Regions from separate parts of the Homo sapiens genome. Here all the other regions are linked to region 5. The links are contacts of gene promoters, found by promoter capture Hi-C in blood cells and fetal thymus (Javierre and others, 2016). All regions are on one chromosome and are shown on one strand. The core of a region is centred on a gene start or on the middle of the fragment in contact, and the rest is flanking DNA. Distances in the headings are between cores, read along the strand shown. Region 1 overlaps TMC3 (transmembrane channel like 3). Region 2 overlaps IL16 (interleukin 16). Region 3 overlaps STARD5 (StAR related lipid transfer domain containing 5). Region 4 overlaps TMC3-AS1 (TMC3 antisense RNA 1). Region 5 holds the start of MESD (mesoderm development LRP chaperone). Region 6 overlaps IL16 (interleukin 16). Region 7 overlaps TMC3-AS1 (TMC3 antisense RNA 1).

Evidence for each region. The method cuts DNA at HindIII sites, captures the fragments that hold promoters and counts their contacts. A CHiCAGO score of 5 or more calls a contact.
Region 1: a fragment that was not itself captured here is called in contact with the fragment with the promoter of MESD in region 5 in 1 of 17 cell types (neutrophils); the score reaches 7.3 in neutrophils.
Region 2: a contact is called between a fragment that was not itself captured here and the fragment with the promoter of MESD in region 5, in 3 of 17 cell types (neutrophils, non-activated CD4 T cells and naive CD8 T cells). The highest score is 7.0, in neutrophils.
Region 3: a contact is called between a fragment that was not itself captured here and the fragment with the promoter of MESD in region 5, in 1 of 17 cell types (neutrophils). The highest score is 10.4, in neutrophils.
Region 4: a fragment that was not itself captured here is called in contact with the fragment with the promoter of MESD in region 5 in 1 of 17 cell types (neutrophils); the score reaches 5.2 in neutrophils.
Region 6: a fragment that was not itself captured here is called in contact with the fragment with the promoter of MESD in region 5 in 4 of 17 cell types (neutrophils, monocytes, total CD4 T cells and 1 more); the score reaches 9.3 in neutrophils.
Region 7: a contact is called between a fragment that was not itself captured here and the fragment with the promoter of MESD in region 5, in 2 of 17 cell types (neutrophils and total B cells). The highest score is 6.0, in neutrophils.

What each region holds. Positions count from the first base shown.
Region 1 is chr15:81,334,855-81,338,936 of GRCh38, forward strand. TMC3 (transmembrane channel like 3) reads right to left here. Exons shown (of 22, transcript NM_001080532.3): 18 at 3,801-3,926; 19 at 2,992-3,070; 20 at 1,755-1,797; 21 at 1-121. All of the region lies in intron 2 of TMC3-AS1 (TMC3 antisense RNA 1), which reads left to right. Among named protein-coding and RNA genes, the nearest start is that of TMC3-AS1, 13 kb to the left of the region's middle. The HindIII fragment of the contact is 3,810 bases long and covers 443-4,082 here.
Region 2 is chr15:81,285,699-81,289,829 of GRCh38, forward strand. It overlaps IL16 (interleukin 16), which reads left to right. Exons shown (of 19, transcript NM_172217.5): 10 at 1-132. Among named protein-coding and RNA genes, the nearest start is that of STARD5, 36 kb to the right of the region's middle. RefSeq lists an enhancer at 1,080-1,159. The HindIII fragment of the contact is 6,054 bases long and covers 1-4,131 here.
Region 3 is chr15:81,318,382-81,322,741 of GRCh38, forward strand. It overlaps STARD5 (StAR related lipid transfer domain containing 5), which reads right to left. Exons shown (of 6, transcript NM_181900.3): 3 at 4,027-4,159; 4 at 958-1,075; 5 at 28-121. Among named protein-coding and RNA genes, the nearest start is that of STARD5, 3.6 kb to the right of the region's middle. The HindIII fragment of the contact is 3,928 bases long and covers 413-4,340 here.
Region 4 is chr15:81,384,258-81,388,210 of GRCh38, forward strand. The region is part of intron 6 of TMC3-AS1 (TMC3 antisense RNA 1); the gene reads left to right. Among named protein-coding and RNA genes, the nearest start is that of TMC3, 12 kb to the left of the region's middle. The HindIII fragment of the contact is 3,423 bases long and covers 939-3,953 here.
Region 5 is chr15:80,988,067-80,992,106 of GRCh38, forward strand. MESD (mesoderm development LRP chaperone) reads right to left here and starts at 1,753. Exons shown (of 3, transcript NM_015154.3): 1 at 1,513-1,753. The coding sequence starts at 1,725. RefSeq lists enhancers at 834-1,448, 1,437-1,716, 1,449-2,062, 1,702-1,996 and a silencer at 1,747-2,026. The HindIII fragment of the contact is 12,917 bases long and covers 1-2,383 here.
Region 6 is chr15:81,302,139-81,306,335 of GRCh38, forward strand. IL16 (interleukin 16) reads left to right here. Exons shown (of 19, transcript NM_172217.5): 16 at 1,411-1,512; 17 at 3,770-4,028. Among named protein-coding and RNA genes, the nearest start is that of STARD5, 20 kb to the right of the region's middle. RefSeq lists enhancers at 1,099-2,298, 1,683-2,213. The HindIII fragment of the contact is 1,130 bases long and covers 1,225-2,354 here.
Region 7 is chr15:81,403,066-81,406,985 of GRCh38, forward strand. All of the region lies in intron 6 of TMC3-AS1 (TMC3 antisense RNA 1), which reads left to right. Among named protein-coding and RNA genes, the nearest start is that of TMC3, 31 kb to the left of the region's middle. The HindIII fragment of the contact is 1,860 bases long and covers 1,346-3,205 here.

The sequences.
Region 1 (4,082 bases), core at 1,098-3,597, 350 kb after region 5:
TCAAAATGGGCCACGTTGCCGTTGTTTTGGGGTGTGCCCGAGTGCGCTGAGGACAGCTGGCTGGTAAGATCACTGTCGTTTGGAAGCTTCTTGGTGCTTTCTTCCTGGGTCTGGATTCGGGCTGCAGGGAGAGGGAGGTGTTGTGAGAAGACAGGTGTCACTGAGCAGGTGACAACTTCAGATGAGTTGAGTTGCAAGGGTTTTATGACATCCAAGAGTTGGTCCGCAAACAATTGAGTGCACTTACAAATGCACCTAACCAGTGGGCAACAAACATTCTGTAATTCAAATGATTTCATCCCTGCAAGTTGGAGCTGGGAGTGTAGGAGGAATCAAGTGAACACAAGGCTTTACAGTGCTCCATCTGATGCTCCCATGAGGCAAAGCAAGTACTTAACAGCTTTGGGCCTCCAGTTCCTTATCTATTCAATGGAGATAATAAAGCTTACACAACAATTATGATTCTTTGGAAACAGTTCACATGCATTCTGAAAAAAGATGTGGTCTCGAGCTGGAAAATGAACACTGGACAATGCTATTGTTATCCTGAAACAGTCTATGTGGATTCTGGCTTTTGAAGGTGACCTGAACTAAATTTAATTACGCTTAATTGGCAAATAAGCGATGACGATTACAGAGGCATTTTATGGCGTGAGCCACAGTCACTTTCAGTAATCATTATCAATTGTAGGCTTCTCTCTGAAAAGCTGATGGAGCAAGCAAGCATAATCCTTAGGCCTTAGAGGTCTTGCTCAGACATTTTTCTGGAGAGGAATATTTCCCTTCCAATTAGTGAAGTATTGCAACAGCTGTGAGAGCTAGCCCCTAAAGCCCTTCTGGGTCCCATTCTCATTCATGTAGGCTGTGCCATGTTAATGGTGCCCAGTGAGCCTTCTAGCTCACAGCACTCTGTTAGTGGTCCTGAGAAACAGATCCATCTCCTTCGAGCTGCCGTTGCCCACTTTCTTCCCTTCAGGCCACAGCAGACTTCTACGCCACATGCTTCCATTCTCCCTGCTCTGCAGGGACAGGACAGAACCTAAGGAGGCTCAGGGAAGGGACCTGGGAGGGAACATTGCAAGGAAGAGATGGGCCATGGAGAGGAAGTATACAAAAGTGACCCAGACAAAGAGATTCTTTGGGCTTTCATCCACGTGAATGTGCTGCTTTTCCTCTCCTACTTCGATACTTCCTTCTGATTTTACACATGTTTTGGGATTATTCATGGGCCTGGATATGATATAAAAATTAAAGATTTAAAACAACATTTATATCCCTAGATTTTATTTTATTGTGCATAGTTACTGGTGAAAAAACACAGGTTATCAGGAATTTGTATTGGTAGTATACCGCAAACTACTTTAAATGGCTGTATTTTTAAATGCCCACTAACTGAGACAGCAGATCTCTGCATTTAAAAAAAATATTAGGACAGGTGCAGTGGCTCACACCTAGAGCTAGCTCTAGGGGCTAGCTCTCCCCAGCACTTTGGGAGGCCAAGGTGGGTGGATCATGAGGTCAGGAGTTTGAGACCAGGCTGACCAACATGGTGAAAATATAAAAATTAGCCAGGTGTGATGGCACGCACCTGTAATCCCAGCTACTCAGGAGGCTGAGGCAGGAGAATCACTTGAACCGGGAAGGTGGAGGTTGCAGTGAGCCGAGATCACACCACTGCACTCCAGCCTGGGCGACAGAGCAAGACTCTGCCTCAAAACAAAAAAACAACAACAAAAAGAAACGGAAATACTTACCTTCTACCATCTGGGCAACCTTTTTCTTATCCTCTGATCTTGCCTAAAATGCAAATGATATGCATGTTTGTTTTGGCTTTAGCAGGAAGCAGTAACAAATATTATTCCTGGGGGAAGAGAAAAAGATTTACATGCCATAGTTCTTACCTTGGACCATAACTGTACTACTATTGCCCCCTATGGACGGTATGCTCTGGGCTCGGGCCTGTTATTTGAGTGAATAAATGCAGATACCTGAGAGCTGAAGTTTTATGCCTAGCCAGTTTTATTTAGGGACAGCTAATTAACAGACCATGTTTAGATTCTGTCCATAATAGTTTGCCTGAATCACAAAGAAAAAAATACAGATCGACAACACTGGAGATGTATGTTTCCACCAAAATGGCCTTTGTAACTCCAAATGAATTTCCAATTAGAAGCTAATTTGTGTTTCTTTGCATGAATTGATGTTCATGGGAAGTTTTTTTTTTTTTCTGATAGAAGTGGAAGGAGTTTTTTTGCATGGGTGAGGTCAGTGAGGCATCTGGGGTGCCAAATTTAAGGAGGCACTTATTTTCAGGGCTGTGAAAGGACAGAATCAGCATTACGCTTACAGAGCCTCCTTAAATGTGGTGCTTTGGGAGCCTCACTGGCCTCATCCCAGTCTTGGGATCCTTCCTTGGGGTCTGGAGGACCCAGGGCACTAAGGGAACACCTGGGGTATGTGGAGGAGGAGAAATTGTGGGAGTTTTGGGAGCGTGTGTCTCCCTGGGACTGCTCTGAGAGATAGGGTTTGAGCCCCATGGAGAGAACGTAATGACAGCCACATCTAAAGGATATGAAAGAGGTGAGGCTTTAGGGACAAACAGTGCTGCTGGGCTCAGATGCCCAAGTTGACAAGGATTGGGAAGGGGCCCTTTCTCTCCCCTGCCAATCTACCAGAGCTCACAAAAGTACCTGGCACACTGAGGGCTTGGTGTGGTCACAGGGTGGGCACTGAAAGGCTCGAGGCAGCTGCAAGGCCTCTTGAGGAGGAAGAAAAACAGGAGCAGGCTTCCTCCTAGCAAAGGGGAGCCATCCCTGGGTATTCTTAGAAATAACTCTTGGACATCTGGGGATTGGTGGCCTTGCACCATAGTGGGTGGCCAAGAGTCACAGAAACCTTGAAGATGTGACTTCACTTGTATTCCCACGCTGGCGGGATCTCAGTCATGTGGTTGACACATATTCATAATAGCAAAGTTCATGAAATACTTGCGTTTTGGATCTGCATTTTGAGCTGGTGGTTGCTGAGCTTTAGAGACCGTGCGATGCTCTGGAGATAATAGATGAGCATGCTAGGACAGAACAACACAGGACAATGAGTGGACTGCAACTCGCTTTTCTGCTTTTCAGACCACATTCCCTGCAGATAGTTGGCAGGAATGAGAGGCTCCCAGGCCAGATGCGGGCTATCCACTGACCCTCCGCTAAGGACAAAATGTATCAGCAAGTTCTCAAGCCAGTGAGCACTGGGAAGGGGCTGCTTTTGTTTTCTCTTCCTGGCTTTCCACAGCACCCTCGTTGACCTGGAATTCTGCACTGGTGATAGCAATAAGGAAGAACTGAAAATGGGGGAGAAATTTTGCAGTCTATCAAGCTATGAGTACAGGATCCACTCACTTTTATTTTTTTTTCCTTTAAACCAAAATAAGCCAAAGCTACTCAGCTGAGTTGTGAAATTCCTTTTCAGGATTATTTAAGTTTCTAGAAAATGATAATGGCATTCAGCCCCATTCTAGTGATCACAGTAATTGACCAAATGGTGTTGATGGATCAATAACCACCTCAATGGCAATGGAGTGCTCCCTCATCGCCCCTCGCTGAGACCCAGTGGCTGTGTCTCCATGGCACAGTGCCTCATGTGACTCTGGTGTGTGACTCAGAGTCCCTGTTGAGATCATCAGGCTCTAAGCCTAAGTGATTTTTGAATGAACTAATAAATTTTATGTAATTATTGGAAAGCAGCGTTTTCTTGTTGGCCAAACACACAGAAGTCCCTCCAAAGCTGGCAGGTGTGGTACTCACAAAAGCAGGAGTACTGCGGGCAGGATGACCACGGGGCTACTGATGTGTCCAACCACGGAGCCAAACCACACAGGAAAGTCTTTCTCAATCGTTTCTGACACAATGTCATAAATTTTCTCTTGTCCACTGTGAGAAAGAAAAACATAACTCCAGATTTTATTGCTCTTGGCAGAAAGATGCTGCAAGACATCAGAAAATGGCTGGATGCCTGGAGGCCAATTCATAACATTCCTCAAATGATTTCATATCTAATTAATATGGAGGATGGAAGATGGGGTCATT
Region 2 (4,131 bases), core at 615-3,114, 300 kb after region 5:
TGTGGGGACGAGATTGTGGAAATCAGTGATTCCCCTGTGCACTGCCTGACGCTCAATGAAGTCTACACGATCCTGAGTCACTGTGATCCCGGTCCAGTCCCCATCATTGTTAGCCGACATCCAGACCCACAGGTAACACCCACTGGGTTATCCTCTTCTTCTCAGGCTCACTCGTTCAGTACCAAAATTGGAACAAGAAATAGATGAAAACAGAGATGTTGCTGGCTGGGTTTGTACCTGAATTCCCAAGAATCCCTTCCAAGTTTCTGTAGTAAGAATTGTCTGCAGCAGAGGTCCACTAACAAACTCCTAGATATCAGAGGCAATTGACATTAACTTAGGGAAGCTCTTACAGCTGAGTTATAAGCTCTGGGGCAGGAAAGTAGAGACCCAGGGTCCCAGCTAGTAGACCAAGAAATTTATTCATTTATGCGTCTAGTAGGTACCCACTGTGGGAATGTCTGGAGGTAGGTACTGAAGATACAGAGGCAAGTTCATAGCACACAGTCCTGCCCTGCAGAAGCTCACAGTATCAATAAAGAGCCTGACATACAAATAATTGCAAAACAGAGATGGTAAGTCCTATGAGAATACAGGAATATAGCAGGGAATGGTTGATAAAGTAAAAAAATACCAGAGGTTAGTTTTCTCCAGGCAGAGAATATAAGGAAGATCATTCCAGGAGGTGGGAACACAAAATTCAATGTCACAGAGTCAAAAAGGGACCTGACATGGAAGGAGAGGAGTGGGTTCTGTGGGGCTGGAATGTAGGGTACTAGGTAAGAGTGACTGAGAACAGATGTTGGCAGGGCATTGGGGTTACACTGCAGAGGGCTTTCAACAGGATACTAAAGAGTTTGCATTTTATTCTACATAGTGAGGAGCTATGGGAGGTCTGTAGCTGTAGAAGGAGCATGTTCATATTTTAATTTTTAAACCTTTGATTGCACTGTAGAAGACAGGATAGAGTGGGTGGAGTGTGGGGTTTGTAAGAGGAAGGAAGCTGATGGTGAGAGCCTGAACTACACAGCAGCCATGAGAAGAGAAAAGAGAAGGGGCAATGTATTAGTCTGTTCTCCCGCTGTTGATAGACACATACCTGAGACTGGGTAGTTTATAAAGAAAAAGAGATTTAATAGACTTACAGTTCCATGTGGCTGGGGAGGCCTCACAATCACAGCAGAAGGTGAAAGGCATGTCTTACATGATGGCAGACAAGAGAGAATAAGAGCCAAGTGAAAGGGGAAACCCCTTATAAAATCGTCAGATCTTGTGAGACTTATTCACTATCATGAGAACAGAATGGGGGAAACTGCCCCTATGACTCAATTATCTCCCACCAGGTCCCTCCCACAACATGTGGGAATTATGGGAGCTAAAACTCAAGATAAGATTTGGGTAGGGACACAGACAAACCATATCAGGCAACATGAGGCAATGCTTGGGAAGACTCAACAAGAGCTGCTGGGCAAGTGGCTCTGGGGTAAGAGAGGGAGGAACCGAAGATATCTCGAATATTTTTAGATTGGAAGACTGAGCAATGGTCTTCCACCAGAAGAGAGAAGAGGAAAAGGTAGCAGGCTTGGGAGGGAGAGAAGAGCATGATCTTACTGTGGGACATAGTGAGGTGGAGGTACCACGGGGTGTCCAGGTAAAGATGCCCAGTAGGCAAGTTAGACTTAGGGCTGATAGCAACTATAACAGGAACCCAGGCTGGAGCTAGACTTGGGGGTTGAATCCCTGCTGTTGGTGAGAGCTCTGGGGAACCTGGAATAATCACCACAAAGAATTATTTAATCTTAATATGCACCAGGCATGTTTTTCAAAGATGTGACCCACACAACTGCATTTAGTTGTTGTGCAGCCTCCTGAAATCAGTGTGATATTTCCCCCCCAACTCACAGATGAGGAAACTGAGGCTTAGAAAGGACAAATAAGTTTCCCAATGGTGAAGCTACTAAGTAAAGAAGCTAAGATTTAAATCCAGCAAAGCCTGTGCTTTGAACTCACTGACTCCCAAACTCCCAGTGACACTTGGACAGAGTGGAGTAATGAGGGAAATCAATATATAATGGTGTGGTGGAATTCAAACCCAGCCCCATTCTGTGGATTGCACACTGGAGCTAAACACAATCAGAGACAAGCAAACTTCTTAATTAAGGCAAACAAATAATTGGCCTAAATCTCTGGACAATACAAGAAAAGAAAGAGGTCCCAATTAATTTGTCATTTCCTCCTGCTGCTTTTAGGACTACGGCAGAAAATCAGTGGAGTAGGGCGTCAGGTTGTGGGCAAATGCTGTAGCCCTGGGCTTAAGGAATGTGCATTCTCCCAGAGACATGGGACACACACAGAGAGGCCACAGAGGTGAGGGCCTTGAGAGTGAGGGAGCTGGAGTTCCAGCTGCTCAGATAAGGGAGCCAGGCCAGAAAGGACAGGTAAGGTTTAGAGCAGCAGAAAGACGAAGACACCCTAGGCCGTGGAGATCCAGGGGCACAGGCATAGGGCAGAGAGAAGAGAGCCAGGCCCAGCAGCAGAATGCCTGGCATGTGTCCAGTCTGCTGCTTGCTTATGGTTAATTTGGGCAACTCATCTAACCTCCAAGAGCCTCTGGTTCCTCAACTCTGACATAGGGGAGTGGTCTTTACCTTACAGGACTGTTGTGGATGGTAACTCTCCTCTAGTAAGAGTTTACCATCTGCCAGGCATTGTGCCGCAGACTTTAAATGATTTATTTATTGTTGTTTATTGTGGTAAAATACACATAACATAAAATTTACCATCTTAACCATTTTTTAAGTGTACAGTTCAGTGGCATTAAGGACATTCTCATTGTTGTGCAACCATTGCCACCATCCGTCTCCAGAACTCTTTCCATCTTTCAGAATTTAAACTCTACCAGTTAAACAAGTCCCTATGTTCTCCTACCAGCAAATCCTGGGAACCACCATTTTACTTTCTGTCTCTGTGATTTTGACTACTCTACGTTCATCGAAGTGGAATCATATAAAATGGGTCCTTTTGTGTCTGCCTTATTTGACTTCGCGTAATGTCCTCAAGGTTCATTTATGTTGTAGCACGGGCCAGAATTTCCTTCCTTTTTAAGGTCGAATAATCTTCTAGTATGTGTATGTGTGTGTGTGTGTGTGTGCGTGTGTGTGTATCACATGCTGTTTATCATCTGTTTTTGGGTACTTGGGTTGTTTCCACCTTTTGACTATTGTGAATAATGCTACAATGAACGTGGAGTACAGATTCCTCTGAGATACTGACTTCCCTTCTTTTAGGGTATATACCCAGAAGTGGAATTGCTGGGTCATATGGTAATTCTATTTTTAAGTTTTTGAGGAGCCTTCAAACTATTTTCCACAGTGGCTACACCATTTTACATTCTTATCAACAGAGCCCAAGGGTCCCGATTTCTCCATATCCTTGCCAATACTTTGTTATTTTCTTTTCTTTTTTTGAGACTGAGTCTCACTCTGTCACCCAGGCTCGAGCGCAGTGGCACGATCTTGGCTCACTGCACTGGGTTCAAGTGATTCTCCCACCTCAGCCTCCCTAGTAGCAGGGATTATAGGTGTGTACCACTGCACAGGCTAATTTTTGTATTTTTAGTAGCGATGGGCTTTCACCATGTTGGTCAGCCTGGTCTCGAACTCCTGACCTCAAGTGATCTGCCTGCCTCAGCCTCCCAGAGTGCTGGGATTAGAAGCATGAGCTACCATGCCCAGCCTCTTTTCTTTTTGTTTATAGTAGCCATCCTAATGTCCTAATGTGTGTGAGGTGGTAACTCAGTGTGGTTGTGATTTGCATTTACCTAATCATTAGTGATGTTGAGCATTTTTTCATTTGCTTTTTGGCTGTTTGTATATCTTCTTTGAAGAAATGTCTATTCAGGTTCTGTGCCCAGTTTTTAATCAGGTTGTTTTGTTGTTGTTGTTGTTGCTGAGTTGTAGGAGTTCTTTATATAATCTGCAACTCAACTATTTATCTGAAATATGATTTGCGAATATTTTCTCCAATTCTATGAGTTGCCTTTTCAATCTGTTGATGATGTCCTTTTGATGCACAGAAGTTTTTGATTTTCACATAGTCCAATTTATCTATTTTTTTGTTTCCTGTACTTTT
Region 3 (4,360 bases), core at 1,127-3,626, 330 kb after region 5:
TACCTCAATGCAGGAAATTATCCTTACCCTGGAAGAGGTTCACAGAAGCAACCACAAGGATGGTTAAATCCTCTCACAAAACCTGGCTTCGGGGGACATAACGGATGCTCCACATGGGTGGCTGGAAGACAGTGCAGAATCTCGGTGAGTTACAACTTCAGACGGTCAGGTCACTGCCATTGGGGTGCCATAGAGCACACAGACCAGACTACCTGCAGCCCTGGAGTCTGTGAGGGACTCCTGCCTCTTGGCGTGAGTTCCCCCTACTCCCACCCTACTGCCCCTTACACTCACACATACAAATACACTCTCACATGCGTGTACACAAACTCACACACAGACACACACACACTTGCACTCACACACACTCACTCATCCACATTCACACATAAACATGCACATAGCTTTCCCAAGCTTGTCAAGAATATCAGAGAAAAGAACATTCTAGAACACAAGGTTTGGTCATGGGAGGAGGCAGGTGCCTCTCTCAAATCTCAGCCAGGAGAGGCATGGATGCATCCAACTCTCCCGCGTAGAAGAATTGGAGGAATGGCAGGGGCTGTGCAGAGGCAGGAGCCCTGCTCCTCACTGGGCATTAAGGGAGTGGACAGCATCCAAACCCTCAAGAAGACACGGCCATAGATTTTGCACACAAGTTTTTTGCCACCCAACTAACCCACATGTGTACAGCACACACCATGAGCTTCCGCAGGAAAAAAAAAAAAGGGGCACTGGCAAAACCGTGACTTGAACATAGAATTACTGGCATATGGACTGTCTTGCGTCAGACCCCCATGGCCCTGAGTCCCCCCAAACCCAACCAGATGAGGTAGGGGACTCAGAGTGTGAGTTTCTGGTGATTTCTGGTTGCTTGGCTTTCCTTAAGGAACTGTGGGGTGCAGAAGAGAAAGCTCGATATCGCAGGAAGGCATGGCAGCTCCTCCGGGCATCACTCACCGTTGGAACTGATGGTCCCATCCTCATATCTCTTGACTAGCACCAAGTCCACAAAATCTCTGGGAGAAATGAGCTTCATGGCAGCGGAGGGAGTGGAGGTTCTGCTTACACACAGGGTCTGCCAAACCAAAGAAGCATGTAGCTGTGACTGCTGGCCAGACATCTTCTCCCAACTCCCACCCCATCCCTCAAGGTCTGGGAAAGGTACTAGGGCTGACAGTAGGGTGGCACTATAAACAGTTAAGATCCAGAGCGAGTCTTCCCAGGAACTGGGTGTCATGGAAATACACCCAGTTTGTAAGACGAGGGCTGTGACACAGGCTGCCCACAGCTGTCTAGCTGCAGACCAGTGCCATGCTGAGGTCACGTCTCATGTGACCATAAGAGGTACCATTTATTGAGCACCTAGTAAGAGCCTGGCTGGACAAAGCTCTCAGCTGTCCCTTACCTTTAGAAATAGGAATCATTAATCCCTCCTACAGGTGAGGAAACTGACACTTAGAGAGACTAAGGAACTCAGCACGAAGCTCATGGTGGAGATAGGATTTGAACAGGGCCAGAGCTAGGGAGAGGGAAGAGAGGCCACTCTTTTTTAGGGCTGACCCTGCACTTGCTCAGCCTCCTATGTTGTGCCTGGGGCAACTCTTTGGTTTACCCTAGTCCCAGCCCCAGGAGGGAATACCTTGAACCTCACTCAATCTCAGCATATCCCAGTAGTCCACACTCTCATTTTATAAACCAAGGATGCTGGGCTTTCTCCCATTCATCCCATCCTGCAAGAGAGTGGGGCCCAGGCTCTCTCGAGGTCACAGTGGAGAAGTACAGGCCAGGCCTGTGATGGAACAGTCCTGGAGAGAAGTCTCGGGGTAGGTGAGAGGGGCTGGTAAAGGTCTCCATCTCTGTGTCTTTCCCCTCAGGTATTAAGACTTGGGGCATCGTGTGTTGCTGCAGAACTTTTCATCAGGGACACTTTCGGCCTCAGGAAATTAATCTTCGAATGGCATGAGATGCATGGGGGCACTTGAGCACTTTGCAATGGGTGCAATGAGAATAAATTTCCAGGAAACTACTCCGTGTTTCCTTCATCCCCTAATGACCTGCCTGGGAACAGGCTGCACCTGCACACAGGGTCTCCTTTCCCACTTGAAGAAAAGCACAGCATATGCCCATTCATCTAGAATCATCCTATCATGAATTGTCCCAGTGTGTAAAATCCTCCAGGGTGGCAAAGGGACAATTAGGAGTGCGGGCGGCAATATGTAATCAAGGCAGTACACACTGGTATTAGAATTTCATGTTTTTCCCTTTCTTAAGCATATTCCAAAACTTGGTGTTAAAAACTAGGCAATTTTGCCATTTCTAAATTCTGGTATTTTGTAACAGTAATGGCAGAAGTGATGAAAATTTTGAAAAAAAAATCATACTGCTTCCACCCCTGATGACTGCCTCCAAGTGCATCATTCCTGAGGTACAGTGTCTGGAAACTAAGATGAGGAGGACTTTGGAAAGAAATTTTGAAGACAGCAGCAGCACATGTCATAAATGCGACAAACTCATGGCATGGCCCTGTATCCTATCCATCCATCCACCTATCATCGATCATCTATCTATTTTAGAATTAGGATATTTGAGAGTTGCCAAAAGCATGCTGAGAAATGTCAGTCTGCAAGGAAGAGCCCTTTCTCCACATTTTCATTGTTTCACTAAATGATAAAGAGCTACCACTTGGCAATTCTCCACTTTTTTGTAAACCTGAGCTCACCAGTAGCCTGTGCTTCCCCTCTACTTTGCAGTTGTCTATTGAAAAGTTTGTATCTTTTCATGGGCTTATGAGTTAATTAGAAAAAAGAGAGCTCCCATTCATCTCATCTAAAGACGCAAAATGTTTTACTTGTCACGTTTAATATTTATCAGAATTTATAATATAATCATGTTATTTTAATGAATTACACTCGTACCTCAATCCAATTTTTTAAAAAACAATTAGTCTTGGCCAGGCGCAGTGGCTTACACCTGTAATCCCAGCACTTTGGGGGGTCGAGGTGGGGGGATCATGAGGTCAAGAGATCGAGACCATCCCAGCCAATATGGTGAAACTCCGTCTCTACCAAAAATACAAAAATTAGCTGGGCATGGTGGCGTGCCCCTGTAGTCCCAGCTACTTAGGAGGCTGAGGCAGGAGAATCACTTGAACCCAGGAGGCAGAGGCTGCAGTGAGCCAAGATCACGCCACTGTACTCCAGCCTAGCGACAGAGTGAGATTCCGTCTCAAAAAAAAAAAAAATTAGTCTCATGATTACATGAAATATATGATTAAAAAAACTTCTATTTCTATGCATATTTATGATGCAAGATGATGACTTCCAAGAATAAACATGTATTGTATTAGGATAAAATTCAGAGGGCTATGTGGAATGGAAATTTGAGTTCCAGGAAAACAGCTATATACCATTTCTGATGATTTAAAAAACCTTGTTCATGTATTTTAAGTAAAAATTTATATATTATTTAGACACATCTAAAAGAATGATGTCATTGCTTTGTTCAAAACTGAGATTTACATGTCAAAAATGACATGCTTTGCAACTTATGAAAATTTAGTTGTAAACTAAATGTTATTAATAGACATCAACTGGATGTGTGAGGATGATGCATAATTTCTCAAAAATCTGTTGGATGCATGTAAGCAAAAAGCGTGAAGACCCTCATACCAGAGGGTAACTGGGGTCATGCAGGTACGTGGAGCTGCTACTGGCCCAGGCTTCAGGGAAGTGGGTGCCAGGGGCTGAGGATCCTGTGTTGCCTAGTGCAGCAGCCCCACACAAGGAACAGGTATGCTCCCCGCAGAGACTCTGTTTGGGGCTTCTCTCCCTCTCTGAGTCATGAGGTTTCCCACCGGGAAACTGGGCTGAGGCAGGCCTCCAATGCTGCAAGCAGTGGGCAGCCTGTGCTTGCAGGACACACCCCCTTAACAAAAGGTATCACGGACCCCTTCCAGAAGAAATGGGAGGGGGTTACTATAGCCTGGCCCAGACACTATCTAGAGATAACATGCTTGGAAAGACTTACGTCAGTGATGCTTTGGATAATTTCAAAACCGGTCACATTCTCATCCCACTTCACTCGTAGGCCTCCAACAGCTGGCTTCACACAGTCCCACACCTCCTCTAGTGTCCCATATACAATGCCTTCTCCTCGGTACCTGGAGCACGAAAAGGAATTTGACCCCAACGCATCAATCAAACTTGTTATCTTGAGATTGTATCTAAGGACTAGAAGGTGGACCATGCCATGTCTGTCACTACTCTTTAGGACAGACTTGCAGAGAAGGGGCTGAAAGTCACTAGCCCCGCCTCCCTTCAGGCCTGCAGAAATGGACAGTAAGCTTTCACAAGAATACAGT
Region 4 (3,953 bases), core at 1,400-3,899, 400 kb after region 5:
GGGTTTTGGAAAAACTCTAGGCAGTTTCCCTGAATCCCAAGCAGGCTTGTTCAGGCTTACTATTTAGAGAAAATGGGTCTGACCTGGAGAGTCAGTATTTATGGTGTGATGCACTTGAGTAGATCTTATCAGCATCTACTAATGAGAGTTGAACATTAGCATGCTAATGTCTAAATTCAGAGTATATTCTGTGTCATTGAGATAGGCAGAAAAATGACCCCCCAAAATCTATCTACGTCTTAACCCCTGAAACCTGTGCGTATTTCCTGATATAGCAAAAAGGGAGGGAGGTCCTTGCAGATGTGATTAAGTATTATGAGATAGGGAGGTTATCCTAGATTATCTGGGTAGGCACTACAGGTAATCACATGTACCTTATAAGAGGGATGAAGGAGGAGATTTTACTGCATACAGAGGAGAAGGTGATGTGAAGATGGAGCAGAGAGAGACCTGAAGATGCTGGCGTTGAAGGCTGCAGGGATGCAGCCACAAGCCAAGGAGTGCCTGCTCTCACCAGAAGCTGAAAGAGGCAAGGAATGTCTTCTTCTATAGAACCTACAGAGGGAGTACCCTGCCAACACCTTTATTTGGGCCCAGTGATACTATCAGACTTCAGACTTCTGGCCTTCAAAACTGCCAGAAAATACATTTCTGTCATTTTAAACTACTACGTTTATGGTGATTTGTTACAGCAGCCACAGGAAATTAATCCAGCCACTTTATGTCCAAAATGAGGTTAATAATAGGGAACCTGTAAGTGCATGCCTTGTTTCAAGTTTACCAGAGATGCCACATCCTTCCTGGTGTCTCTGTGGGTTTGCTTCCTAAGATTCCAATCAACCCTTGCACCCGGTGATCAACTTTCCAACTGTCTTTCAGAAAATGATTAACTTCTGTTTTTTAACTAAGTCGTCCCCAGCAAACCATATTTTTGTGAAAGCTTACTGTTCATTTCTGCAGGCCTGAAGGGAGGTGGGGCTAGTAAGTCTCAGCCCCTTCTCTGCAAGCCTGCTCTAAACAGCAGTGACAGACATGGCATGGTCCACCTTCTAGTCATTAGATATAATGCCAAGATAAACAAGTTTGATTGATACCCTGGGGTGAAATTCCTTTTTGCACTCCAGGTACTGAGGAGAAGGCATTGTGTATGGGACACTGGAAGAGGTATGGGACTGTGTGAAGCCGGCTGTTGGGCATGGTCCACCTTCTAGTCCTTAGATATAATTCCTTTTTGGGCTCCAAGTACTGAGGAGAAGGCATTGTATATGGGACACTGGAAGAGGTGTGGGACTGTGTGAAGCCGGCTGTTGGGCATGGTCCACCTTCTAGTCCTTAGATATAATGCCAAGATAAACAAGTTTGAGTGATACCCTGGGGTCAAATTCCCTTTTGTGCTCCAGGTACTGAGGAGAAGGCATTGTATATGGGACACCAGAAGAGGTGTGGGACTGTGTGAACCCGGCTGTCGGGGGCCTGTGAGAGAAGGGGGATGAGAATGTGATTGGTTTTGAAATGATCTAAAATAGAAACTCCACAGATGGCCTCTGAGAAATTGAGACTCCATTCTGTAAAAAGGCACAGAGTCATAGAACTGTAGCGCTAGAAAGACTCTGGTCACCTGGCTCAATCCCCTGTTCTACAAAAGACGGGTCAGAGGCCTCAAGAGATACGACTCTCCAAGGCTGTCCAACCCATAGGTAGGAAAACTGGGACTTTTTGAAGTGTTTCTGTGAGAATGAAAATAAATAGCTGTAAAAGGCTCAGAATAGTGTTTGATGTAGTAAGTGTTCAAAATGTTTGATTGTGATAGGTTTATTTAAAACATTGGGCCACCTAAATTTCCAACATCAAAAGTGAAGTAACAAGAATGCTAATGAAATACAACGTTTTATCTAAAATAATGCAATCATCAGAGCCTTTCTGTTCCATCTGCCTCTGTGACTACTGCCCAGTCCAAGCCGCCATTGCCTAGATTGTCGTAGCAGCCTCCTCATCGTTGTCCTGTTTCTTTTGACGACTTCCAAAGACTATTTCCCGCCCAGCTACATCCCATTCTCCTCACAGCAGCCAGAGAATTTTTTTTTGTAAAAAATGTAAGTCAAATCAGGTGCCTTCTCTTCTAGAAACCTCCAGTGGCTCCTTTTCTCAGTCAGAGTAAAATCCACATCCTTACCCAGAGCTACATAGCCCAACAAGAGGGACCCTGTGCTGCACCCTGGAGCTCTTCTCCTGTAATTTGAGTGTCTTGCCTACCCTGCTCTGGCCACACTGGCCTCCTTGCTGTGCCCAAATACTCCAGGCCTGTGGCCTTGGGGTCTTTACGTGTGTCTTTTGCCTTGGTTGGAATGCTTTTTCCCTGCATGCTCAGTTACCTGCTCCCTTTCCTCCTTCAAGTCTCTTCTCAAATGTTGCCCTATCAGAGGGTATTTTTGGCCACCCTACATACCAGAGCAAACCACCAGCCCTCATTGGCTGCCTATCACGCTTTATTTTTCTTTATAGCATTTATCCCCACCAGATATTAAATATATACATATTTACACCTTGCTAGTCTATCTGTTCAGTACTATACTTTTACATGAAAGTAAAAAACAAACAAGAGACAGTTTACATATTATATCTTTCTTTTAAAAAAACATAACTTACTCTATTTGGGTGAATAAATGACAATTGAGCCTATGATTTGTTCTGTGTCTACTAAGAATCTAATTTGTCAACCAAAATAATCTTCCTGGGGAGATGCAGTGAACACTATGCTGCACACATAAACACATTGCATCACTCCATGTAGATTATTTTGGTTGATAAATTAGATTCTTAAGAGGCTTGGGGGTCAAATACTCCAGGCATTAAATGTCAGTTCTACTGCTTGCTAGCTAGAGTACTTCCACAGTGAAAGCTAGGGAGCTTTTACTGACTGTCCCTGAGTCATTATTTCCTTATTTACAAAACAGAAATAACTTTGCAACGTTGTAAAGATTAGCAAAATTGTATAGGAAAGGCCTACCACAGTGCATAGGGCGTAGTAGGAAACTAAAAACTGAGAAGGATGTTTATTCTTGTGTCTATAATAGTAGTGTCATTTAAACCCCACCATGAAAGCATGGCCAGAATGGTTTAAGTAATTTCTTATGAAATATGTGATAGCCATTATTATCATCATTCTTGACATTATTTTAAAATCAGCATTAAAGTTTGGTAAGAATGCTTTGAGATGAATTATTTTTTGCAAACTGAACTGATTCATGTAGAGAACTGCAAACAAAATATTTTGCCAATATACTGATTAACGACATAACATACACACTATGTGTGCTCTTTAATCCAGCTCCAAATGCAAATAAAACTTTAAAAATGCCCTCTCCTGTCTAAGAAACAAGCCCAAACAGTAGCCAAGTACATATATAGAATTTAACTCGGGGTGTCTGAATTTACTGTAGTTGCCCATGGATGGGAGAAGCAGCCTGCCAAGGCCCAGAGATGCAGGGTTTAATTCCCAGAGCTCACGGGAAGCCGGCTGATTGGTGAACGCGCCCGCACTGTGTAATTGAACATGTGCTCCCAGCCCAACTGCAGGAAGGATGAAATTTGTTAAGTGGTATCTTTCATGAGATTAAAAAAGGAAGATAAACTGTCACTGGTTATGATAGGGTCTTATTAAATTTCTGCCCTACTAATTTGGAAACTGTGATAATCCAGACTTGGCATATATGATACAGAACAAAAAAGTGGAATTAAATGCTGACACTTGGAAATTTTACATTATGGTGCACCCCTAGATTCTAGGGCTCGTTGTTGACTTAAGTCTATTTTGTTTCAATTCTGTGTATCTATTTTTAACCCTTAGGTGCCATCTGCTTGAGCGTTGTCCTGGTTCACTTCCAGTATAAAGCTCAGAGTGCAGGAATAATATCCAAGTGCCAGCAAAACCACTTGGGTGGTCGCAAAATGGA
Region 5 (4,040 bases), core at 503-3,002:
GTCTTCCTCACTATCCTTCATTTGCACTTCTGTCACCAACATGTGTGGCAGTACAGGTAAAACAGTTCAAAGAACTGGCTCTAAAAGTCGCGAAAGAATTTGAAACTCAGCTAGCTTGCTGTGCGATGTGGAGCAAGTTATTTAACCTCTTTGTGTCTCAATGTCATCATCTAGAAAATAGGGATAAGTACCTCCCTCATGGATGGGGTAAAAGGATTAAATGAGATAATGTGTTTTTCTTGGCCTTCAAAGTCTCTCCCCACTCATCCATCCTGTTATCTACTGTTCCCAGTGCAATCTTTGTTCATCTCTTCAGCACCCTCTTCGTCTAGCTCAGGGTCTGAGTAGGTCAAGGGGAGGATTTCTCATGAGGTGATGTTCTCACTCTGGCAGATCAAAAGGCTTTATTTGCTGGAGTCCAAAAAGAGACAAGGAGATTGCAAGGGAGACGGTGAATGGGGACGTTCTCTCTACACTCAAATCTATCCCAATCTTTCCATCAGCTGTTGATGACCACATGAAAACACAAGCCTGCATTCTTCTAGTCAGATGCATCAGGTGGTATTTTAAACTCTTGTCTGAAAGTCTTTCCCTTCTCCCGTAACACACACAGAGATAATCACAAAATAACAAAACATCAGTGTTGGAAGGAATCTTAGGACCCATCCTAACCTCCTCATGTTGCAGATAAAGAAACCGAGGCCTAGAAACTAGACATAACCTGCCCAAGGTTCCACAGCTATGCAAGTCAACCAGGACGATACAATCACCTTAGGAAGGGGAAAAGGCAGCAATGTGGTTTTGGCCAGTAATCTTTACCTTAAAGCGTATTACACACTCCCTGTAACTGCACACTCCGGTGCGTCCAAGTGACAAACCAGAAAACTTACTCTCCTTTGAACAAAAAGCGTGAGTTTCACGATACAGAGCCATTAGCCATTGATACTTCTCCCCTCAGTAAAATAAATCCACCCACAAAAAGCACAAAATTCCCAGCAGGGACATATACCAAAATAGGAAGTCTAAAATTATACTGATTTAGAAGACAGCTGAGATAACCATTAAGGAAGACCATCTTCACTGCAACCCACTCTCCCACCCACTCACCGCAAAACAGAAGGAAATGCTCTTTAGTAGATTGGGAAAGGTCACTCTCCCTGTTTGCAGGGCTCACTGACCACAAGAATCAACGCAAAGACAACCAGGGCACTGAAGGGTGAAGGGAGAGCAAAGCTGAACAGTGAGGGGCAGATCCGTGATTGAAGTGGTTTGAGAAATGGCAGGAGGAACAGGGCACTGGAATGACAGAGGGCTGGAGCGAGGGTCAGCAGGGCGCGCGGGTCAGAGGAGGAATGGAGGGTCAACAGTGGCTTCAGTGGGTCAGTAAGGATTCAAGGCATGAGTAGAGGAGGTTAGGGGGTCAGAAAGGTCCCAAGACAGAACAGGTAAGGGGTCATAGGGAACAGGGTCCCGCACAGAGAAGAGCCGGGAGGGTGTGCGCGCGCCGCGGACCTCCCATTGCTCCAGAAGACGCGCCATGTCTGCATCATTGTAATCGCGAATATCCTTCTTCTTCTTCCGGGGAGGTGGGGTAGACTCGTCGGGCGTCCCGGGCGAGCCTTCGGCCGCGCAGGACCCAGGCGGTGGTAGCAGTAGCAGCAGCAGCAGCAGGTCAGAGGCACAAAGCAGGACCACGGCCTTGCGCGCCCACCTGGAAGCCGCCATTTTCGCTGCGCCGCGCAGCGCCCTAGACGCGCTTACCCGACCTGCGCGGGCCGGACCCCGCCTTGCACACGCCTTCCTGTCCGCCTTTCCGAGGCCCCGCCTCCCGGCCCTCGCTAGCCTACCGGGCCCCGCCCCGTACCATTTCCTAACCCCCGCCTCTGGAAGCCCCGCCCCTCCGCCATTTTGGCCCCGCCCCACTGGCTCCTCCTCTTGGTCCGGCTGAGGCGCTCTGTCCCGGCTGGGTGGGTCCCTGAGTGCTCATTTTTCGTTTTCCGTCAGAGGCCGACCTTTTTCTCTGGAACGCACAAGCCAGGTCCAAAAGTTCCTTCAGGGCCTCCAGGAACCACTAACCAACGTCCCTGTTGACCTCAGTTTCTCGCCTGTGAAATAAATTGGAACTGGAAGTTCTGGAGGCTGCCTCGGCTCTAAAAAAGCCCATTTCTGGATGTCGGACGTTTATCCTCAGTCTCTTGCAATTTCCTTTGAGAACAGCCAGTTAAAAAGAAGTGAGTGGCAGGTAGGGCAACTTTTTTCAGAAAGTCATAAATAGTTCGAGTCCACTGCTTTCCTCATCAATAAAGAGGATTCAGTTCAACCAGCTTTCAATATTTGTTTTTTTTTTCCAAAAAGATCATTACTATTCATCCAAAAAAAAAAAAGCTTGCCTTTCTTTGATTTCAACCTAATACTGTAGGCTCTAACTAATCCTTTTCAAGGCTGAATCACGCTACTTTTTGTTTCTTAAAAAGATTTTGGCCAAAGATGCTTTGAGATTCTTCTTGTTTTAAACGGCTCATCAGCTGATGTCTTTAAAATGTTTAATTACATAAGACCTTAAAAAACAAAAAACAAAAAAAACCAAAGGCCGCACGGTGGCTTAAGCCTTTATAATCCCAGCACTTTGGGAGGCTGAGGTAGGACGATAATTTGAGTTTAGGAGTTTGAGACCAGACTGGGCAATAAAGCAAGACCCGCATCTCAAAAACAACAACAAAAAACGCTTCATTCTTTATACTGCTGCACAGTTTTATTTGGTATTGTTAAATTAATAGTTTATTTTCCTATTGATGGGCATTTATTACCAATTTTTCTGCTATTACAACAAAAAAGAGCTGTAGTAAACCTTATTCAAGCCTTGTTTGGATAGGATTAGTAGGCTGCATATAAAAGAAAACTGACTTTTTAAGGTGGTTTAAACAAGATAAAAGGTTTTATTGTGATTGACTTTTCTTTCACAGAAGCAGTGTAAACTCGAAACTAGGGCTGGTATAGTGGCTTCTCAGCCATCTGGTACTCAGCCTCTTCCTCATCCTTCTATCATATTAGCCTGTGGCTTCCACCCTCAAGGTCAGAAATTCCAGGATGGCTCCTGGAGCTCCAGTCATCAAGATGACATTCAACCAGAGGAAGGGAGAAGGCAGGCCAAACCAAGCACACCTTTCAAGTGGAGTCAACTTCTTTTAAGCAGCCTACTTGAACATTGCATACATTTCTGTTTACATCTCATTGGCTGGAACCTAGCTCTCCAAGGGAGGCTGAGAAATTGTCTTCTAGCTGTATACATTGTCATCTCAAATGAAATTAGGATTGTTATAAAGGGAAAAGAATAAAGTGGAGGTTGAGTAGGCAACTACGCCTGCTTTCCTTCACTCTTAGGACCAGTGCAATTTAAATTCTCTCACACCGTAGGAGTGGCTGATATTCTACATATTCATGCATGCATCTGTATGTAAACACGCTAAGCTATGACCTTTCCTATTGACGTTGAGCAGAAACAACTCATAAGAAAAAGATTTTTTCTTTTGTGAAATCATAGGGGAAATGTCATGAGCTTTCTCCCCAGAGCACATTGCTCCACCCAGTGGCTTGGAGCCCTATCCTAGTGCAGTCATACTAAAAAACATGCACAGCTGTGGCTGATCATGTGCTCTACTGGGAGGGGTCACCCTGGTAATTCATATTGCCAGCTTCAAAGTTAAGGGGCAAACGTGTTGGGATTCTTGGCCCACATATCTAGTTATAGAGAATAAGATCATTGAAAGTTTTACAGAAATTGTTGGGAATGTGTAGAAAGTTTCAGGGCTACTGACTTTCCTCTAAGGAGGAAATCAATTCGGCATATAATCCACTGATATGAAAACATCTGGATCAATTGCATTTTCAACATTTGGATATTTGAAACTTACTTTAGTGTTTGGAACTTGATTCCATTCAACTTGGGGGGAATTTTATTTACCAAAGACCTATTGTTAACCAAGAATCAGGTGAGGCACTGATGCAAAAATGAATATAACAATATCCTTACTCTGGCAGAG
Region 6 (4,197 bases), core at 540-3,039, 310 kb after region 5:
CCGTAGGCTTTTGGCACTAGAATGATCCAGGCTAGGATGAGAGGATAAGGAGGTTCTCGTTTTCCATACAAGGAGGCCTCATAGCTGCAATTTCCACATCAAGAGTGTAGGTGAGTCTGATGAGCCCAAGGTGCTGCTGTGCTGAGATTCTTTCGCTGTGGCTTTCACTTGTCACCTGGGACCATCATCCCCCAGGATCTTACTCAGTGCAAATGAAATAACAGAGGCAGAGCGTGTAAAACACAAAGAGCCATCCTGCCTGAGCTGCTCTGGGGAGAGTATTTGCTTTCTAACATGAGAAGAGCCTTCTACAAGGCAAGTAACCTGATACTTGGGTAAAAGTTGAGAGAGTTGGGCTAGTGTTGGGGCTTGGAGGTGAGGGTGCAGTGAGGTACATTCATCCTTCCATGCCTTTGGGTCTTAGGGGCTCCAAGTCTTAGGATCATAGGGACAGCTGCAAGTCAGGTGCTCTAGTGACGCTGAGCAAGTGAATTCTTTGACATAAGTTTACTCCTTAGTGCCAAGGTACAAACAGGTGCCCCAAGAACCTGTAGGTGTACTTTATTTGGTCTGCATGGTGATGAAAAAAATATTGAATTCTATACATGATAAAACCTGAATTGAAACCTGGACTTTAGGGAAGTGATCTGGTAGCGCTAGTTCTGTATGCCTACGTAGAGCTGACCCTTTGAGCAGATGTACTCGTTGGCGCTCTGCAGTTCCTATCACACATCTGCCCATTTGGCTCATTTTAGGGACCTGCCTGACTCCTATAGGCATCTGAGTTTGAGACCCCTGCTCTAGACTGGAATAGGAGTCTCTGACTGTGTCCTGGCTCCATGGGAGTCCCCGTCTAGGCTAGGAAGTACCGTAGTAATGTGTGTGTGTGTGTGTGTGTGTGTGTGTCACACTTGCACACTGTGCATTGGGGCAGGATGTTAGCTGGGCTTCCTTAGTGCTGCTGCTGTGACCCATGGAGAAGTAGAAGGGAAGAAGGAGCAACCAATTCCTGCAGAACAGCACTGACCCCTGTTTTGTTTTTTGTTGTTTTTTTTTTTTGTTTTGTTTTACCTGAAGTCCTACAACCTGACTTCATCTCACACTGTCCAATATGCTGATTTCTGGCTGACTTCATGGCACTCCCCCTGCCCGGCTGTGGACAGGGTGAATGAGAGAGGAAAATAATTATGCTTGCTGCTTTACATACATTTTTTTTTTCTTCTAAGCTTCCCATGACTCCTGAAGGTCCATTCTTTACAGATGAGGAAACTGAGGTTTGAGGAGGTGATGTAACTTGGAGGCTGGCCAAGCTGGGGTTTGAGATAACAAATCAGTCTGATGTCAGTCCGATGTTAAATTGTTCATCCTCTTGCAGTAAAATGTTTTTGAATGTATGTATTTCCTCTGCAGCAATTAGACGGCATCCATGTCACCATCTTACACAAGGAGGAAGGTGCTGGTCTTGGGTTCAGCTTGGCAGGAGGAGCAGATCTAGAAAACAAGGTGATTACGGTGAGTGGCCAAGTGAAGGGGCATGTCACAGCCAGAGGCAATGGTTCTGGGGGAGGGGGACACACTTGCCAGGAAGGGGCCCTGTGCTGGGGAAATGAAGAATGCATGACACTAGGCCACTGGGCAGGTCCTGTCCACTCAGCACATCCCAGAGCCTGGGGCTGCGTGGAGAGGGTAGCAGGCCTGGCCATGGGCATCTTTTCCTGTGGGTCCCACTATTCTGGCTCATCCAATCTGATCAGCATTGGCTGCTGCCTTCAGGTCACCTGTACCTGACCCAGATGGTTTCTGGTTCTGCCAGTTTTGTGGAGCCATGCTGCGGCTGCTCGCTCTCTAAAGCCGAGTGCATTGCTGTCATCCCAGGGCTGTGTTGTCTCAGGGTATCCTTTGTGTAGGCTGTGCTGGGCTCATTTGAATTTCCATGCCCAACTGAAAACAAATCCTCCAGTTCACAGCATCAGCCAGCATTCAACATACCACACCCCCTTGCAGTGGCAATCTGGCATGTTCCTGCGTGTCACTTCAGAGTCAATCATGTCAGTGGTGACTTCCTTGATTTCCTGATAAGTTTTCTATCACATAAAAAACACTTAAAACCTGTAAGTCTCTATTTCTCTCACTGAGTGCAGCTGAGTATTACAAAAAGATTCCTGACCGTGTAGTTTACTTTCTACTTGAAGAGGAGGAAAGAGAGCTTGCCTGTGGGAATGGCACTTTGGGTATTTTTCTCTGTCCATGAGTAGCAACTTCTGTCCACGTCATCTGGCCAGTCACCCTTGAGACACTGCAGACAACAGGAAACTAGGAGGAAGGCGCACATGTTGGCTGAGCACATGCACAAAAGCTTCTTTCTCCTTCTGTGTTTGAGCATTTCTCTTCCTTTCCAGATGATTAAAAGGGAACTAACGTAGAGCACCATCCACGGCCATGCTGAGCACTCACTGACCTGTTGTCTAAATTCATCCTACCCACACTTTGGATTGATAAATTGGTGGCATTTATGCTTCTTTTATAGAGGAGGAACCTGAGGTTCCTCCTTTAATTAACTTTAATCTTCGTTGGCCTAAAAATCCTCTAGCATTGAGGAACCTGAGGCTCAGAGGAGAGGTTCTGCTTCATGCTTGGATGTTACAGCCTGGGGATTCTAACCATGTAACAGAATTTTTCTAACACCAAAACAATTTAGAGAAGCAAAGAGCTTTGCTCCTATCATAAAAGCAAAACTACAGGTACCACATTTTAGTGGTTTCCATGCATGCTATCACTCAGTCCTCTTAATTATAATGGACCTCATTAAAGAGGCTGAGGCAGAGACATGAGATATTTTTGTGTGTTTGTTTATCCCACATATCTTGCAGAAAGGGGACCAAGAGGTGACTGGAGGTAAAGAGTCAGAATTTCTAGGGGAGGAGCTATAAAAATGTCTAGACTGCCTAGGAGAGTGTTTCTCAAAATGCATTCTGCCAAATGAGACCGAGAATTTCTCTATGAGAAAAGAATTCTTTGTTGAAACACTTTGGGAATCCCCATAATACCCTGCCAATACTTAGAAATCTGCCATGCAGATTTGCATTGTAGACCCTCTAAATGCCTTTTGCTTAGAAATCTGCTGCCATGCAAATTTGCATTGTAGACCCTCTAATGCCTTTTGCTTTTTAAAAGTAGACAATGTCAGAGCTTTTGTTTCACCCAGTATTCCTCAAGTTTCTTTGATTTTAAAAAATTTTTCTTGGCCGGGTGTGGTGGCTCATACCTGTAATTCCAACACTGTGCGGGGCCAAGGTGAGAGGATTGCTTGAGCCCAGGAGTTTGAGACCATCCTGGGCAACACTGGGAGACCCTGTCTCTATTTTTTAAAAAATAATAGGAAAAGCCTTTTTCTTACACAATACCCGTTAATATGCCATAGAATCAGTGCCTTGAGAAAACTACTCTGGGGACTTCTGACCTAGGGCAGGTGAAGCAAAAGATTTTATATGGAATCCCAACTAGAATCGTGGTGGTACACTATAGGACGTTGTGTTGGGATGGATTCTGAGGGCTTACCTGGTCATTACTGCTGGTGATCTCTGCTCTGGATGGAGAAGGAGGGAATGCTGGCCTCTGTGCCAGCAGCTCCAATCTAGGACACAATTATCTTTAATCTTTGTTGGCCTAAAAATCCTCTAGCATTGACTAACCGGTTCAATCCTCCTCCAGCAAGTATGTGGACTGGACTTGTGTGATTTCTGGTCCTGACTTCCTTTGGTTTGCTCAGGTTCACAGAGTGTTTCCAAATGGGCTGGCCTCCCAGGAAGGGACTATTCAGAAGGGCAATGAGGTTCTTTCCATCAACGGCAAGTCTCTCAAGGGGACCACGCACCATGATGCCTTGGCCATCCTCCGCCAAGCTCGAGAGCCCAGGCAAGCTGTGATTGTCACAAGGAAGCTGACTCCAGAGGCCATGCCCGACCTCAACTCCTCCACTGACTCTGCAGCCTCAGCCTCTGCAGCCAGTGATGTTTCTGTAGAATCTAGTAAGTTCTCCCAACTCAGTGGAAGCCACATGGGCCACATCCTCTTTGGCCATTTGGGGCCAGACCTGATGGGGCTACTCAGTAATTTGTGACCCCAAGAATGTGTGGCTGCCTAGTACACTGCCTGAGACGTGTTTACATGTGCCTGTGTGCAAACACGGGGGCTGTA
Region 7 (3,920 bases), core at 1,026-3,525, 420 kb after region 5:
AAAGCCAAGGGCCTCCTAGAATTATGTTTTGCAAAATGTGCTATACACATTGCTTATGGTATATCAAGTAGTCCACATATGGTTAGGCAGTTTTGGAGATAAAAATGATGAAACAATCCTATTTACACATGTTTTATAAATTTGAAATGTAATATTAATTATACTTTTTAAATTCCACTGCATTTTAATGATTATATCATAAAAGTTGTAAATGTGCTCCAAGAACTGCGTTGGTAAATTTGTTTCAGCTGTCATTCAGCTAACAGAGTCTTGTGAAAATTTTCCAATGTCACTTGTATTCTATTAGTTGTGATTCTTGTTCTTAAATTGCTGCGTGGAAACTAATCTATGGTGACAATAATCAGGGCTTGGGAAGGCTTGATTGTAAACAGGCTCATGACCCTGGGAACTTTTGGGGATGCAGCAATTATTTTCTTATATTGATTATGTTGGTAGTTCCATGGATGTAGCTTGCCAAAACTCATTAAACGATACACTTCGAATGAATGCATTTTATCATATGTAAGTGAGACCTTGGTAAAGTTGATTTTAAAATGTGAAGTGTTGGCTGGGCGCAGTGGCTCATGCCTGTAATCCCAGCACTTTGGGAGACGGGGGGTGGGGGCGGGGGTGGATCACGAGGTCAAGAGATCGAGACCATCCTGGACAACATGGTGAAACCTCGTCTCTACTAAAAAAAAAAAAAAAAAAAAAAAAAAAAAAAAAAAATTAGCTGGGCATGGTGGGTGGCCCAGTCCTAGCTACTGGGGAGGCTGAGGCAGGAGAATCACTTGAACCAGGGAGGCAGAGGTTGCAGTGAGCCAAGATCGCACCACTGCACTCTAGCCTGGGCAACAGAGAGAAACTCCGTCTCAAAACAAAACAAAACAAAACAAAACAAAAACAATAAGACGTGAAGTGTTATAATACCAATTTACAAGAAAGCATATCAAAAATGACTCATTGAAGCAGGTGGTTAGTGATTAAAAATTTAATGAATATACTACAAATCAGAAAAATACACTAGATGTAAATAATAAATAGAGCACCTGTGAAGACAGAGGTTGATCTGTATATGCTGAGAGAAATGAAGATACAAGAGAAATGATGTCACCAGCTGAAATGCTGTCACATTGTTGTCTTCATTCTTTTAGAAGAACTAAAGAAATAAAAGAATGAGCATCTGAAAATTAGATTGTATTGATAAACATTGATCCATTCACCCACCAGTCCCATTGTGTTCTGTTACAAAGTTTTTCAAAATGGCATTGTGAAATCTTTCAAGGGTTTGTGAAAAATAAGGTATAGCATCTCTTTGGTGAGCCAAATGAGTTTTTCTAAAATAAGCTTGGTAATTTTCACCCTAAAGTTGATGTATTTTAGTGTAAAAAATGAAGAGGTAGTGAAGTGTAATGGAGGGTGGGAGCCAGGCTCCTCACTGTTGGAGTGGGAAGTTACAGACGAGCAAAGGGAGGAGGCTAGAATAATCCATGGGTAATTGATTAGAGTGGGAGACATCTGTATAAACTCATATTTAGCTTAATATATAAATAGTACATGAATATTTATAGATGTATCTGTACATGGGTTATATAGATACGTGTATACATGTATTTCTCTATTTTGTCAGCTGAGAGGAACTAGAGGTAATAAATGACACCCAAGTAGTAGCAAGTAAAGTTAGAACTCAGATCCTGGTTTCTAATACCATTCTCTGATAGAAGGAATGAGGGCTCCTTGGAGCAATGGATGATTCTAAGGATGGAGGAGAAACATCTTGCAATGCTAGTAATAAGGAAATGCACAGAAAAACTGACACTGATGGGCCTATGCCAAGGATACAGGAACTGACAGAAAGCTCCCAATGGCCAAAGGCAGAACAAGCTGTGCAACAAAATAAACAAAGTGGTACTGAATTATAACCCAATATATAAAATAAATATTGATGGGTCTACACTGATATAAACAAAATGACTGCATAAATAAATAAATGGAGAAGAATAGCCAAATCTCCAGTGCAGAAGAATTTCAAATAATTTATGCAGATACTGTGAGGGTTAATTTTGTGTGCTAACTTGGAGGATGTTTTCAGATGTGATTAGCATTTAAATGGGTGCACTTTGAGTAAAGCAGATTGTCCTCCATTATATGGGTGGGTCTCATCCAATTAGTCGAACCATGAATCAAACCAAAAGACTGCCCTCCCCAAGCAGGAAGGAATTCTTCAGTGGACTGCCTTTGGACTTCATCTATATTCTTGGCTTACCTGAGTCTTGAGCCTGACAACCCACACTGCAGATTTTTGACTTCCTGGCCTCCAGAATTGCATGAGCCAATTCCTTATAATAAATCCTTCTCTCCACATATACACACACATACATCCTATTGGTTCCGATTCTCTATAGAACCCTGACTAATACAGATAATTTGCATTCAAGAAAAGTGAGCATGATTCGCATTCCTTACGTGTGGGCTGCATATACTGACTTCCTTCCAAAGAGTACAGTGTGGAAAATAGAGGGAGAAGAGTAACTTTACAGTGGAGAAGACTGGCAAACTACCTCAGCCAGGTGACCAAGGTCAACATCAACAATGACCAGTCATGTTGATGGTATGTATCCTTGATATCATGAAAATGGCACTGTACCTGTGATCCTCCTCTCCTACCCCATAATCCCAGTCTAATGAGAAAAACATTAGACAAATACAAATTGATGAATATTCTACAAAAATACCTGACCAACACTCCTCAAAAGTGTCAAGGTAATCAAAACCGAGGAAACTCAGAGACTTTCAAGGCCAAGAGGAGTCGAAGGAAACAGGACAATTAAATGTAGTATGGTATCCTGAATAAGATCTTGGGAGAGAAAAAGGACATTAGGTATAAACTAAAGCAATCTAAATGAAGTATGGACTTTGGTTAATGACAATGTATCTATATTGGTTCATTAATTGTGACAAATATACCATATTAATATAAGATGTTACTAACAGAGGAAACTGTGTGGGGTACACAGGATCTCTCTGTACTAGTTCCTTAATTTTTCTGTAAATGTAAATCTACTCCAAAATAAAAAGTTTGTTTAAAAAAAAAGAAAAAGGAGGAGGAGGAGGATGAAAAGATGGAAAAAATAAACTAGGGAGGCACCTTTTAGAGTTCTACTTCTCACAGCAAAAAGAACTACAAGTTATTCCACTACCAAGAAGCTTGCAGGGTTAGCCACAAAACCAATGATAAGTATTGTACCTGGGAAAATAATCAATTAATCTTTGCAATTCTAGTCAGATCATACTGTTGGACACCACATCATAGCAATGGCACATGATAGATTACAACAAATGCTATTGTTTAAAAATTATCCAAAATGTAGAAATAAAGCAAAAGAAGATTGCTCGTGCTTTCAATATCATATACCAGACCAGCATCTATCAGGCCCATCAAGCATTATTTCATTTTTTAAAAGATGGACTCTTGTTGATTAACTACTTTCTGTTAATTAAAGCCAAGACTCTGAAGTCACGTGTTAACTTGTAGATTTTTGTCTAATGGAGATGCAAAACATTAACTAGTTATATCTCTGACTTAGCAAATTTATTTTGGTATTCCTTTCCTAATAGACTGTGTAATCTTTTTTTTCTCTAATTTTTCTTTCAATCATTCTGTGCACGTTGCTGGTTTCCTCATCAATAAATCAACAGCTCATTGACACACATTTGCTTTATATTTGTATGAGTGTAATGTTTTTAACTTTTTTTTAAAAAATATGCTTTTATCGTGCATGTTCAAGGAGCTATTTTGTGTTGCAATTAGATGACATAGATCACTGGTATTTGATCATGCATGTTTGCAGTACATATATGAGAAGAAGCTCTTGGTGGCTTCTGTTTATCAAAGCAGTTCTTTAATCAAAGTTTTTAAA